2 separate regions of the Homo sapiens genome follow, and region 1 is linked to region 2. Evidence: promoter capture Hi-C in human tissues and cell types (Jung and others, 2019). All regions are on one chromosome and are shown on one strand. Each heading gives the region's core, a stretch centred on a gene start or on the middle of the fragment in contact. The rest is flanking DNA. Distances are from core to core; before and after follow the strand shown. Region 1 overlaps LAMA2 (laminin subunit alpha 2). Region 2 holds the start of PTPRK (protein tyrosine phosphatase receptor type K).

Region 1 (6,845 bases), core at 2,502-5,001, 720 kb before region 2:
AGAATCCCTTCAGTATCCTAACGTTTACTCTCTCCTTCAAATCCATTACCAAGTAGGTTCTCATCAAGCATCTGAATTCATCTCTCTGACTTCAGTTTTTTTGATAGGGAAAGTTTAATGAGCTATTTCATATGTTGTTGCACTTCCCTAATGAAGATTCCCCAGTGGCTCTGGGATCCCTAACGTCATTCAAGTTTCCGTGTAGTTTCAATGCCTCTAGGATCTATCTACCCCTGTGTTCACAAACTGTGTGTAGAGGTGCCCCAGGGTGCTGCAGTGAACTCACAAAGGCACAGTGGAATATTGTAAACATTTGAAGGACACACAGCAATACTAAATATCTGTTGGGCACTGCAATAACTAATTCAAGGTGGTTCACAAGTTGAAACCTTAGAACATGCTATATTCCACTTAAGAATGTTCTCAACATTTTGAGCCATGTTTCTGCTTACTTGTACTTTAGGCCACTTTATATCTTTATTAAGAAAGGTTTTCAGAAGAGACTGTAATTAAAAGCAAGAACTGCACAAAAGTCAATGTGGAAAAGGAAATAAGGATAGCATTATCCAATCTGATACTCAAGTTTGAGAAGGTATATACTACCCCAAAGGTACCACATCCCATCAGTAAGTGATTCTGGTTATTTATGAAAAAAATTATTATTTTCTGTCCATTTTCTTTTTAAACAATTGCTAGGTTGTTAAAACATGAATATTTATTAAGTTGTTTGGCACTAACTACTTAAGAAATAGAACTGTGGCTTATTTCTGTTGGTCAAGGAGGCACTATGAAAAAATTATGAATACGCTATGAACATTCTGAACTGAGAATGTCTGGGTATGTCTGATCTAGCCTCTTTTTATATTTATCCATTCTGTTACTTGGATTTTTAAAAATGAATTTTCCTGCCAGAATTCTCATTCTTATAGTTCTCTGACCATTCAAACACTTATTTTCTTTGTTTGTTTAGCTGATATTTGACTAGTAAGAAGACTAAAGAAAAAACAGTTTTTTAGTGATATTTCCAAAGCCTGATGCAGAGTCAGTGGCAACCACAGTAAATAAGGGAACTAAAAGATTCCAAACAGGGAGAACTCTATATAAAAAAATTCATCCATTAACATTCATTGAAAAATTCTAACAAAATATAAGTGGTCTTGGTAAGTTATACGTACTGCAAATAACTGTAATTTTCCACATTTTTGGACTTTGCAGACTCATTTATTAATTTTACGAGTCTTTCATAAAATTGAACATCTTTGAGACTTTCAAATTAGTTCATTTTGGGGACAATATTGATTTCTCTGATTTTACAGAGCACTGTGTGTTCAGCCAATAGAACATTTCATTTTCTCCTGCTATTTAGGAACTAATCTGTCATTGTTCTCTTGGCTAGAGAAATATGGTTTTCCACAGGTAGGAGTAAGTGCAATTTTAGTTCACTTTGAGGCAATTCTTATATTACTGGATGGATTCGACTATATTTACTAGGGATGAAAATTATATCTCTTTTCAATACAAAGAGAAAGTGAATTTAGTGAGAGCGGTTCATTCCATTTCATAAGGGTCTCCAAAGGCTTGGCCTTTTCCCTCTTTCTCCATATCTACTAAGGCAAATTCTCTTCAGGGAGATTCAGATATCAAATTGAGAAGGCACTGCAGGAAAAAATTTACCTCCATTCCTGGAGATGGTTCTAGGCTAAGCCATTCACTTTCCTGTTCTTCAGCTTCACCCCATTAAGAAAAGAAGAACACAAGTAGCTGTTTCCCATGAGTACCTGTTTTAATTCTACCTTCAGGGGGAAAAACCAGCTTGTTTGCAAGTAATATTATAGTTACTATGCAATATATAACCTAATGTCACAAATAACAATACAGTGTGCATGGTGCACATTGCATTAAAGATTTAATGAGGCAGGAAAGTTTTCCCACATGACTGGAGAAGGCTAAAAGGTAATTCATAAAACTAAGCTTCATAAAAGAATTTAGCAGTAGGCTACTTGTGGTCTGGCCTCTTTTTTTTTCCCTCTCAATCTCAAGAAATATGAATTGAGGAATGAAGGATGGGATAACCTATTGAGGATAATGTTTCTGGAGAGGAAATCCTTTTCATGAAATAAGCCTGGAACATTTGGTTCTCTGATGTCAGATTATCATCACTGTTATTTCACTAAATGGAGTGTAAAACCTAATATTTGCTTTTGCTTACCAGAGCAAATATTTCAGGAGGGATACACAAAAATCAAATGAGAAAAAGGCTTTATAATACTGAGCAGGATAAATTAAACATATCTGTCAATTTCCATTTAGGATCACAAACAGGGCAAGCGATTCATCTTCTTAGATCCCAAAGCCCGCGAGCCTTAAACTCTGAAAAGGTATCCCTCCCATAGAAGTGTTTATTCATGCATCTATTTGTAGAGCTCTCTTTTATCATAGAAACAGTGTTTTACTTCAAGGTTTTGTTATTTCCTTCAGTGTATGTATAAATTTGAGTTAAGAACAGATTTCTCTTCTTTAAAAGCTCGATAATTATTAGAATAGAACATAAACAAGAGGATTGTAGAATTAGAAAACAGGCAGAATTTACATGAGAGGTTTTAAAGTTACATCATCCTTAATGCATAGAAAATGAACCAGAGTTGTAGGTGTCGAACAGAGACAACACATTCTAGAAAAGTTGGTTTAGAAGGGAATAAACTGAGTTATGCAGTCCAGGGGATATAAATAAAAAACCTCGAGGAAAACATCCTGCCTGCCTGCATTCATTTCTCTCTTCCACCTTTTTTTTCCTTCCTATCTGCTTTTCCTGCCCTCTTTTTTTCCTGTTACCCATCTTCTCCTTAGCTTTCTTCTTCATCTCCTTCTCCTCTTCCTCCTCCTTCTTCTTCTTCTTTTCTTTTTCTTCTTGTAGCCATTAGACTGTTTTGATAGCATTTCTTTTCACAATAACTATGTCCTTTCACACGTGCATTAATTAGAACTGGTTGGGAAAAGTCCTGAATTTGGGATTTTTTTTTTCTTTTTCAATGTGACCACTACAATCAGTTTAACCTGATAAGATAACCTGTATTGGGTGACCTAAATTGCAGAAGTATAAAAAGTAGTGATGAAAAGTATGAATGTGACAGAGTCAAGGACATAGTTCTGGAACAGACCACCAGAGATACTGCCTCAAGTGTAACTAACACTGATTGCTTATCAGTGTCCTAGAAGCTCAGCCCGTCCACTGCTCACAGGATTACTCACTCATATTTTTTCTTCCTACATTTCATATAACTCCACATTCTCATAAAATACAGCCTAGACAATATTTATATACAGTGTTTCTTATCGTTAAGGCCAAGAGATATTCATTATAGTGTTTTGATTGGCAAGGGGAAAAAGAGTAACTGTGAAAGGCATATAGAGAGGAATGAGAGGCCAACATGAATTTCTCATACAAATTTTTGTTAAAATGTTTATTCACTGGAATAGCACTGACCTATCTTGAGCATATGTTTTGTCTGCTGTGTAACAAAGTAAGGCCCAATTATACTTTCCATGTACTCAGCTATAATTCAAAGTAAATAGAATTTGAAGAGTTTGATCAGGTAAGAATGCTTTTGGCTGCAATTGAAAACCAGACAATTAGGAGTTCTCATATAACAAGAAGTCCAACAAAATGTGGTAGGCAGACAAAATTTTAAAACAAATGGATTAGCTTTTATTTTCTTATTTCACGTATCTTTCCCCAACACAGATCCATTTGAGCACACTTGAAAATATAAATCTCCTATGAATAGATTTGCAAAACATCACATAGAAGAAGATGATGTGCTTAGAAAGGCAACATTCCATATAGGAAATGAGTATTTAATGTTTCCTTTAAGTTTTCTGACTTAGCGTACTACTTGTTACTTTATGACATACACTGATCAAATCTTGAGTTGAAATAGTACAATCTCAACAGATGTGAGTAAATGGTAGTGGTGAAATTCTCTGAAGTGCTTCGTGCTGTTAGGCCCAGACCCAAAAACAGGGTCTTTGCAACAGCTGTTTGTTTTCCATTTACTAACTTATGTTTGGATGAAACATTCCATTAGCACTTTTACTATGGGCTAGATTAATTTGTGTGTAAATATTCAGTGCAAAAAATACATGTTATCCATAATTAAACATTGATCTAATCAAATAAACCATAAGTTATAGTTTTATATTAATACAGAGATTTCTTATTGACTAGGGTTCAAAATTTTTTCAAGGTCTCTGCCAAGAAAACAAAAAGCCACACGCTCATAATATACAACATCAATGCTGATTAAAATAACAGAAAAAATTTTAATCCAAGTTCCTTTAAGCTAAAGAGAAACAGGCTTGCTATTGTCAAATAGATAACAAATGAATAAAAAGAAAATGTATAATCCTTGTGGAAAATTTATGTAACAAAGAGATATCAGCAATGCAATTTTCTTTTTAAATGAGAATTGTAGTTAACCTTTCACTTACTGCTTAAAGATTTTGTCTTTAAGGATATTCATCATGTTGGACAGTAGATGGCTATGGTATGGCCCTTTCTACTTCTGTTGCAAAGGGAGGAACAATAGAAAGTATAGAAAACAGAGTTCTCATCTTGCCTTGTAGGCAATCCTCATTGCTTACGTACACCTTCCACAACCCTGGATATGGCCTAAAGTGCTAAATATGAGTTGAATGAATTTCAGGTTACATTATTCAGATGGAGGGCATTTTGAAATAGCAGACAACGTATTTCCCAGAAAAGCAGAAGCCAGAACACCAACCTTGGAATACTATTTTGATGTGATGCCAAGTGGTATTGATCTGCCACTATTCCCTTTTCACTCTTCCCTCATTCGTGAACTCTGCAGGTGATTCTTTCTTACAGCAGTAGAAAGTGGTTGTGAATTTTAGAAGATAAGAATCCCAAAGGTGCAATGGATACTAAGTCACACTCCAGAGGAGAATCAACAGGGTAATAAAATACATTTTAAGTGTCTTCTTCCAAAATAAACAGGTAAAGGGTTGTGTTAGTTGTTTGACATGTCTGTTAATATTGGAGTCATATATAAATCACACAAAAAATTAAGCTCATTTCTGGAGATTTTCCAGAGCTGGTTGTGGATTTTGATTCTGCCTTTAAGCACTACAAGGCCCTTGGGAAAGTTAATTTTGCTTTCAGAGCATCAGTGAATTTTCACTAAAATGAGACGAATCACACCTACCTCCGAAGTTTGCTCTTAGGATGAAATGAGAAAATAAACATAAAACTCCCCACTTGGTACCTAGCACATAACATGTATTCAATAAATGTTGTCATACTGTTTTAATAAGTATAGTTTTCAAAATTAAAATACTGTAAACATTTCACACTAAAAACCTAGTGGTTTATTTCATAATTCTAAATGCACTTGAAAATCCCACGTTTTGGGGAGAGATCATAGTGATGGCCCAATTCAGATTTTATTCACGTCTTAATGTTTCCCTATGGAATTTTGCATAAGCATCTTATAGATAGTAGATCTTGCATAAGTATCTGCTGAATTTTAATCACATTCAACACCATATATCACTTCAATGTATTACACATAGAGAAGGCATAAAAAACTGGGATAAATTTGTACTACCCCATGAGATACCCTGCCATCATTAAAATATGTCTTTATTGGTTTCTCTGTTCTTAGCTTTATCAGTCCTAAAAATAGGCTAAAGGAGATGTATCTATTTGAGCTTTTCTGTGATTTGAGCTTACCTATAAAAAGCTTACTGTACTGCAGACTGGTGAACCACAAATGCATTTGTTTTAAAATAAGGAAGCTTTAGTGTTTGGGAAGTTTGATCTGCAGTTGAAGGAGAAAAATCAATATTTAAGTCACTTAGACATTTACACACATAAATCAACTCTATGGCATTACTTTTCCCAGCTTCTGTATATTAGGATAATAGTGTAAATTCTAGCACCTAGTAATATATACTTTATAAGTTATAAATGCATTTTCAATTTGTTATGATATATAGGCAAACAACATACTCTCTGTATTAGGAAGACACATAGTGTATAGATTAAAGGAAACGGCGATCCAGGAGCAGTCATAGCTAGTCAGAGCACATCCAGAGCACTGTGATCAATTCATGACACCACCATTTAAGAGAGTAGTTGACAAATTAGACTTCATCCATAGAGGTGTGACCAGGATGTTGATGGTCCCAACAGCTGAACAAAAGGTTTGGAAAGGTAATGGGAGTATTTAAAAAGAGAAGACTTAGGAAAAGCATGATTGTTTTCTTGGAACATTTGAAGGCCTATCAAGTATACCAGAAAAAAAATCTCACTGTTCATAGTGGAGAAATAGAACCTGTATGAGAAAGCGTTGGAGAATGTGGTGATTAATATTGACTGTCTACTTGACTGAAGTATGCAAAGTATTGTACCTGAGTGTGTCTGTGAGGGTGTTGCCAAAGGAGATTAACATTTGAGTCAGAGGGCTGGGAAAGACAGAACCACCCTCATTCTGGGTAGGCACCATTTAATCAGCTGCCAGCGTGGCTAGGATAAAGCAGGCAGGAGAACGTGGAAGGTCTAGAATTGCGCAGTCTTCTAGTCTTCATCTTTCTCCTATGCCGGATGCTTCCTGCCCTTGAACATCAGATTCCAAGTTTTTCAGCTTTTGGACCCTTGCACTTACACCAGTAATTTGCCACGGGCTCTCGGGCCTTCGGCCACAGACTGAAGGCTGCACCGCTGGCTTCCCTAATTTTGAGGTTCTGGGAATCGAACTGGCTTTCTTGCTACTCAGCTTGCAGATGGCCTATTGTGGGACTTCACCTTGTGATCATGTGAGCCAATT
Region 2 (6,406 bases), core at 3,613-6,112:
TTTCTGAACTAATCCTCAGTTATGGATGTTTTAAGGGTTCAAGGGACTTACAAAATAACTCTGGTTGTGAATACAGTGTATGTCTTTCCATCTGATCAGAAATTGCCTAAGACCATATAGAGAGAATTTCCTGAGAAATGCAGGCAAGTGGCATCACTATTTCTCTTATTCCTGAATACTCTATTGTTAAGGTCTAAGAGCCAAGCTAACTGGACAGGTCACAGTGCAACTCCAGGGAGGAGTTAGGCTTTGTTCTACAATCCAAGGCCCCAGTGCCCATCCAGGGTGATAGCTTTTAAGGGTATGACAAGCACATTTTTCCACTCTGGAAGTCCCTGCTCTATTCATGGGCTTTATTGTCAGAAATTCCCTGTCCCTCTTGTCCCCAGGGATTCTCTTGACAACACACGTACCCATGCAAGAAGTTTCCTGTAAGAAAGTGCTTATAGGTGTGTTTTTCTTTCAAAGAGAAAATAGAAGCTTATTTCCACCTACCAGGTCAAGAGGCTCTGCAAGAATTGGCTTGAGGATTTTGACACCTGACTCAAATAAAAATTTTTAGAGATAAGAATTAGGTACATAGGAATTGGAAAAAAATCAGATTTAGAATCCGAAGACCCCAGGTCAGAGTTACAATCCTGCTATTAGCTAGCAGCATAACCTTGGGCAGGTATTTTAATTGCTCTAAGCTTTGATTTTCCTCCTCAGTTAAGTGAAATTAATCATACCTGCCTTGCCTCCTTCACAGAGTTGGAGTGAGGATAGATCATGATCCATCATATTCATGTGGGTGAATATGCTTTACAAACTAAAAAGCGTAATATAAGCAGTTAGTTATTATTAACAAGCTGAGAATATTATCTAATTGCTTATAAATACATGCTGTGTGTACACTCATGATCTGCCACTGGGTAAATAAAACCTTGCTTCCGCTCAGTACAAGTTTGTGCATAGTCCTTTAGTGAACAAGACAAGGAAAATAACATTTAGCAGCTGTTATCAACCAGGCCCTTTCATGTCTATGCTTTTTTTTTTTTTTTTTTTGAGATGGAGTCTCGCTCTGTTGCCAGACTGGAGTGCAGTGGCACAATCTTGGCTCACTGCAACTTCCACCTCCTGGGTTCAAGTGATTCTCCTGCCTCAGCCTCCCGAGTAGCTGGGACAACAGGTACATGCCACCATGCCCAGTTAATTTTTGTATTTTTAGTAGAGACAGGGTTTCACCATGTTGGTCAGGATGGTTTTGATCTCCTGACCTCGTGATCCGCCCGCCTCAGCCTCCCAAAGTGCTGGGATTACAGGCGTGAGCCACCGTGCCTGGCCTCATGTCTATACTTACAAGCAAATCTGCAGCTCTACAAGAAAAGAAAATGTATATATATATATATATCTATCTATCTATATATATAGATAGATATATATATATAGATAGATAGATATATAATTTAATCCTATAAAAATATTATTACTTCATTTTCACAAAAAGGAAATTAAGATACGGTGGTATTAAATGTTGTTTAATGCAATGTTCCCAAATTCTGTTCCCTGGAACCCTGGTCCTGAGACCTACTCCTCTATTAAAGCGTTCTATGGTCCAAAACTTTGAGAAACAATGAATTCTTTTTCCTTCTCCAATAGACTTATAGCACATGATACCATATCGGAAACCATGGGAAAGATTCTATAATAAAGAAGCTTGCTATATTGAAGAAATCTGTTAAACTTTGCTCAGTCCAGAGTTCTCCGAGCTAATTTAATCTTGAGGCTGTATTTTTGAATTATACTTATTTAAATCTGATAGAACTGGGATTCTACAGAAAACACTTGCCAAATGCAGATCTAAGATTATGATTGGAGTTAGTGTGTGGTAGATCTGCAATCAGAACACAAAGCTGTCCTCTTTTAAAAGAAATAATGTAACCATAGGCCAAAACAATAGGAAAATAGAGAAGAGCTCCCATAAAATTTTAGTATACTACATCTATTGCTAACTATATTAATACTATGTTTTGTAATTTTTTTCAGCCTTCTTTTTTTCTTGGTTATAGTACAAAGACCTTTGTCTTCTGTTTTTGTTTATTGTTGTAAAATATACATAGCATAAACTTTATCATTTTAACAATTATTGAGTATGTAATTTGGTGGCATTGAGTCCATTCATGTTGTTAGGCAACTATTACCACCATCCCTCTCCAGAACAGTTTTATCTTTCTAAACTGAAACTCTGTATTGTCTTCTGATGATTTTACCCAACATTTGATCATAAGCATTTTTCCATCTTGCAATTTACTTTTTTCATAACTTTCATTTCTAGTGGCTATGAGATATTCTACCATATAATGCTTATGAATCTGCCTATTGTAGAATATTTATATTCTTTCTCTTTTGAAATGATAAACATATTAAATAACATTTTTCATATTTTGGATTATTTACTTGCAATAGCTTCTAGACTAAAGAATAGGAAGATTTTAGTGATTTTTAATGCAGGCTGATGATTTCTTTTCCTAAAAGTTTAACCAAATTTATACTTCTATTGATTCATGTATTCATTTATTCTTTCAAACAAACAAAAATCTACTAATTCCTAATATTTGCCACGCACTTAGCTATGTAGAAGACCCACCAGATTTCTACTCAAGTGATTTCAATCCATACTGGTCGCATTAGTTATGCACAAAAGGAATAATGTACTTACCTAAAAGTTTTATTGCATGCTTTTGATTTTTAGTGAGAAACCATCTGTGTTGGTTTGCTGATTTCTTTTGAGAATTTCCTTTCTTCTCTTTGCATCGCCTCCCCCACTTCTCACTTAAGTATGTGTCTTTGGGTAAGTTACTTAATCTATAACCTTGTTTTCTTATTTGTCAAATGGGAATAATTGTACCAAAGTCTTCACGGAATTGTTGACTGAACTCAATGAAACACTGAAAATCTTGATGTCTCAGTGTGACATTGTATACTCTAAGACAGTGCCTAGAACATTTGAAGAACTTTCTAAACATTACCTGCTATTATTATTACTTCCATGATAGAGAAATTAATAAAGTTTCATGAAATGAATCTTCTATCAGCTGTCCCCCAAAATGGGCAAGGTAAGAATTGTGTGCACTTTGTCCTGGCACTGTGTGAAAATATTTAAAGAAGTTTTTTGTTTGTGTGTTTAAACAAACAAATTACCACGTCATGAACTTCTTTTACATTTCTTACAAGAGTAGAACAGATGAATTAGTATACAGACAGTAGGGTTTTGTTTGTTTTTACTGGGAAAAATTGCTGCTAAATTTTAGGAAGTTCTGCTGTCCTCAAAAAGAAAAATATGTCCCTCAGTTTTTTGTTACCTGGGATCTAGGAATGTTCTCTAATTAAAGAAATGGAATGGTGATGGTGTGTTGAAAGGTATAGGTTAATGAGTTAAAAAAAAAAAATCTACATTGCACCCTAAGGAAGGATGAACTTAACTATGCTGAACTGAATTGACAAGGGTTGAGCTAGTCAGTGTGCTAATGAGCAGGCTACTATTCTCATAGAATTTTTAAAAGTCTTTTCTGCCTGATATGTATGTGTGTATAATATGTATTTATATATGTATATATTTGTGTGTATATTTATTACATTTTTGTTTCCACAGGCTCTGTCATAAGTCTGGTCATTAATAGCATATATTTGATTAAAAGAATATGTGGCTTGGTAAATTATGTGAATGTTATATTAAAATGAATTTCACATTGTCTTGATTTACAAAGGCTAAGATGTCTGAGAAACTGAGAGATGTCAATCAACAGACTATTGTTTTAGCAATTGTACATAACACATAAAAATTCTGAATCAAAGTTATTATGTTATTCAATTGTGACCATACCTATTTTTTGTGACATTTTACAAAAATGAATAAAGTATGCACCATACAGTCTTACCACAGAAGTAAGGCAGGGTGGCATATGGCGAAACCACTTCAAGCTGCTGAAGTAGTTAACTGTGAAATATTTTACTGTCATAATATAGCATTATTTTCTGCCAGATGAATCATTCCGAAGAAGCTGTTTTCATGGTCAGTGTAAAAGTCCTTTTGTTAAATACTTATGTCTTAACTACCTACTAGATATTAAAAAAAACAAAACCACACACACACCAGACCTAGGTGCAAGGAAGGGATAATAAGCCCTGATGCAGTTCTTAGGTGAGAACTGGAAAGGGGCCGGAGGGTTTCAGAGCAACAAGCAAAGTCAGTGAAGCAGAGTAAATCCAAATACTTGGCCAATGACAAATAAACCAGAAAGGAGACACGCCAGCTGTTCACGCTGGAAAGTTACTGATCGTTTATTCTGGTTCAAGTTTTATTTATTCTATGAATAAGGGACAAGTTTTCGATGGGGGTGGGGTGTCTTATTCCTTATTACAAGAATAAGGAACGGGGAGTTTTCAAGGCAGGCGGGTGTTTCCTCAGGGCGCTTCCACACTCCCCTTTCAATCAGCAACCGCTCGGGGGGACCTCCACCTTGGGACGGAACCCCAGGACGCCTCTCCTCGGACGGCGGGGGTTTCTCTGCGCGCGTCCTCGGTCGTCTGGTCGCACGGCTTACCGAACTCTCGCCTCTCAAATTCTGAGTTCTGGAACAGGGCAGCGAGCTGCGCCGGCTCCCCTTTCTCGCTCGCTCCCTCCGAGCAGCGGCTGGCGGCGGGGCCCAGGCTGCGAACAAAGGCGGCGCGGGGCGCGCGGCCGGGGCTGGCGCGCGTCTCTCCGGCAGGAGGCGGTGGCGGCGCCGCGCCCGAGCCCGCATTCCTCAGAAGCGCCCGGAGCCCGCGGGGCGACGTCACCCCCGGCTCCGCCCCCGTCCCTCCCCGAGCAAAGTAACTCTTGACTAACAGGAGCAGCCTCCGCCGAGCATGGAGAGCTGCCGCCGCGGCCGGCCGGCGACGCTGGCGACGCTTTCGCCCCTGAGGTAGTTTGGCGACCGCGAAGAAGGAAAAAGGGCGGGCGGGCGGCTGTCCTCTCACCGTCCTCACCCCGCGAGGCCCGGCCCGCTCCTCCGTCGTGGATTTCGCGGCGATCCCCCCGGCAGCTCTTTGCAAAGCTGCTTGAAACTTCTCCCAAACTCGGCATGGATACGACTGCGGCGGCGGCGCTGCCTGCTTTTGTGGCGCTCTTGCTCCTCTCTCCTTGGCCTCTCCTGGGATCGGCCCAAGGCCAGTTCTCCGCAGGTGAGTGGCCGGGGGGCGTCCCCGACGAACGCCTGGAGTCCTGGGCTCACGAGGGGTGAGCCAGGTCCCCGCTAGGGCTGGGGACAAGGATCGTGGGGAGCTCTCTCTGTCCGGGGGTGGGGAACACAGGGTAGAGGGAGGGCTGTCCCCAGAGTTCGTGCCAGGTGGGACGCGGGGCACCCATTGTTCCTCTCCGAAGCTTGCTCGGGGCTCAGGCTGGCACGGTCTAGCCGGAGAGTGTGGGGACCTGCTGGCTTCGGCGTCTCGCGTGGCCTGCGCCGGGCTAGTGGGGAAGAGAGAAAGAAAAAGTAGTTACGACTCCCGTGACGGCACTCTGTTGCTTGTGGTGCGGGTTTGTTGCTGTCTGCCACTTGGGTGTTTAAACAAATTCCCTGGGAAGCCATTGTCAGAAATGTGGAGATTCGAAGGGACTGACCTCGGCGCGCTTTGCCAGGTGCTTTTTGTCCCGGGAATAACCTCCCCTGACTATTGTCTAACTACTTCCCCGTCCCTCCCGGAGTCCCCTTTTCTCCTCCCCCAGCTCTGGGTTGCTCCCGGGCTTGCCCTGTGCGCTCGGGCACTGCTTGGAGCATGTTCTGTGTGTGTGTTGGCGGAGCCCTGTAAGATGTGTTGAAATGCGGTTCTAAGGACCCACTCTGAGCGTTCATGGGCATCGAGGTCTGGGCGCCTGGTGGAGGAAGCCTGACTCGCGCGTGGGAGCCCGCTCCTCGGGCAAAACCACCGCCAGGCTGGCCCCGCGCTCCCCGGATCCGGCCTGGGGCTCTGGCCCCGCGCTCCCCGGATCCGGCCTGGGGCTGGAAGCGGACTGTAAATGTCTGCCTTCTGCCGGAGAACCCAAAAGGAGACAAGTGGAGCGTCTCGCTGTAGCCCTGGGGGTTCTCGGTCAAGCCGCTCAGAGAAGTCCGTGAACCCTGGCTCTCCCGGTCCCGCCCTCTGTTCCCCTCCAGTTTTGTTATCCTTCGTGTAGGTTGGTTGCTTCTTTCGTTCTCTCCTCTGGGGGCTCTGAAGTTTCACCAGGTGGACGCTGGGGAGCGGGCTCCCGAGCACTTGTCTACCTCCCGCCAGTCCTGACAACTTTTCTGGCCAACCTACCCAGCTTCGCTTGGCTGGCGAGCGCATCTGCTGCTGGGGTTCGCGGTGCAGATGGAGACGCAGTGGTGGCCAGAGGGTGATGGAGAAGACG

The links. Contacts are between HindIII fragments. The study calls those that stand out against the background at their distance.
Region 1: a fragment that was not itself captured here is called in contact with the fragment with the promoter of PTPRK in region 2 in 1 of the 25 tissues and cell types used here (dorsolateral prefrontal cortex).

What each region holds. Positions count from the first base shown.
Region 1 is chr6:129,239,907-129,246,751 of GRCh38, reverse strand. The region is part of intron 12 of LAMA2 (laminin subunit alpha 2); the gene reads right to left. Among named protein-coding and RNA genes, the nearest start is that of LAMA2, 360 kb to the right of the region's middle. RefSeq lists a silencer at 6,570-6,779. The HindIII fragment of the contact is 5,674 bases long and covers 915-6,588 here.
Region 2 is chr6:128,519,055-128,525,460 of GRCh38, reverse strand. It overlaps PTPRK (protein tyrosine phosphatase receptor type K), which reads left to right and starts at 4,862. Exons shown (of 30, transcript NM_002844.4): 1 at 4,862-5,202. The coding sequence starts at 5,103. RefSeq lists enhancers at 4,500-5,094, 5,095-5,688. The HindIII fragment of the contact is 5,372 bases long and covers 1,193-6,406 here.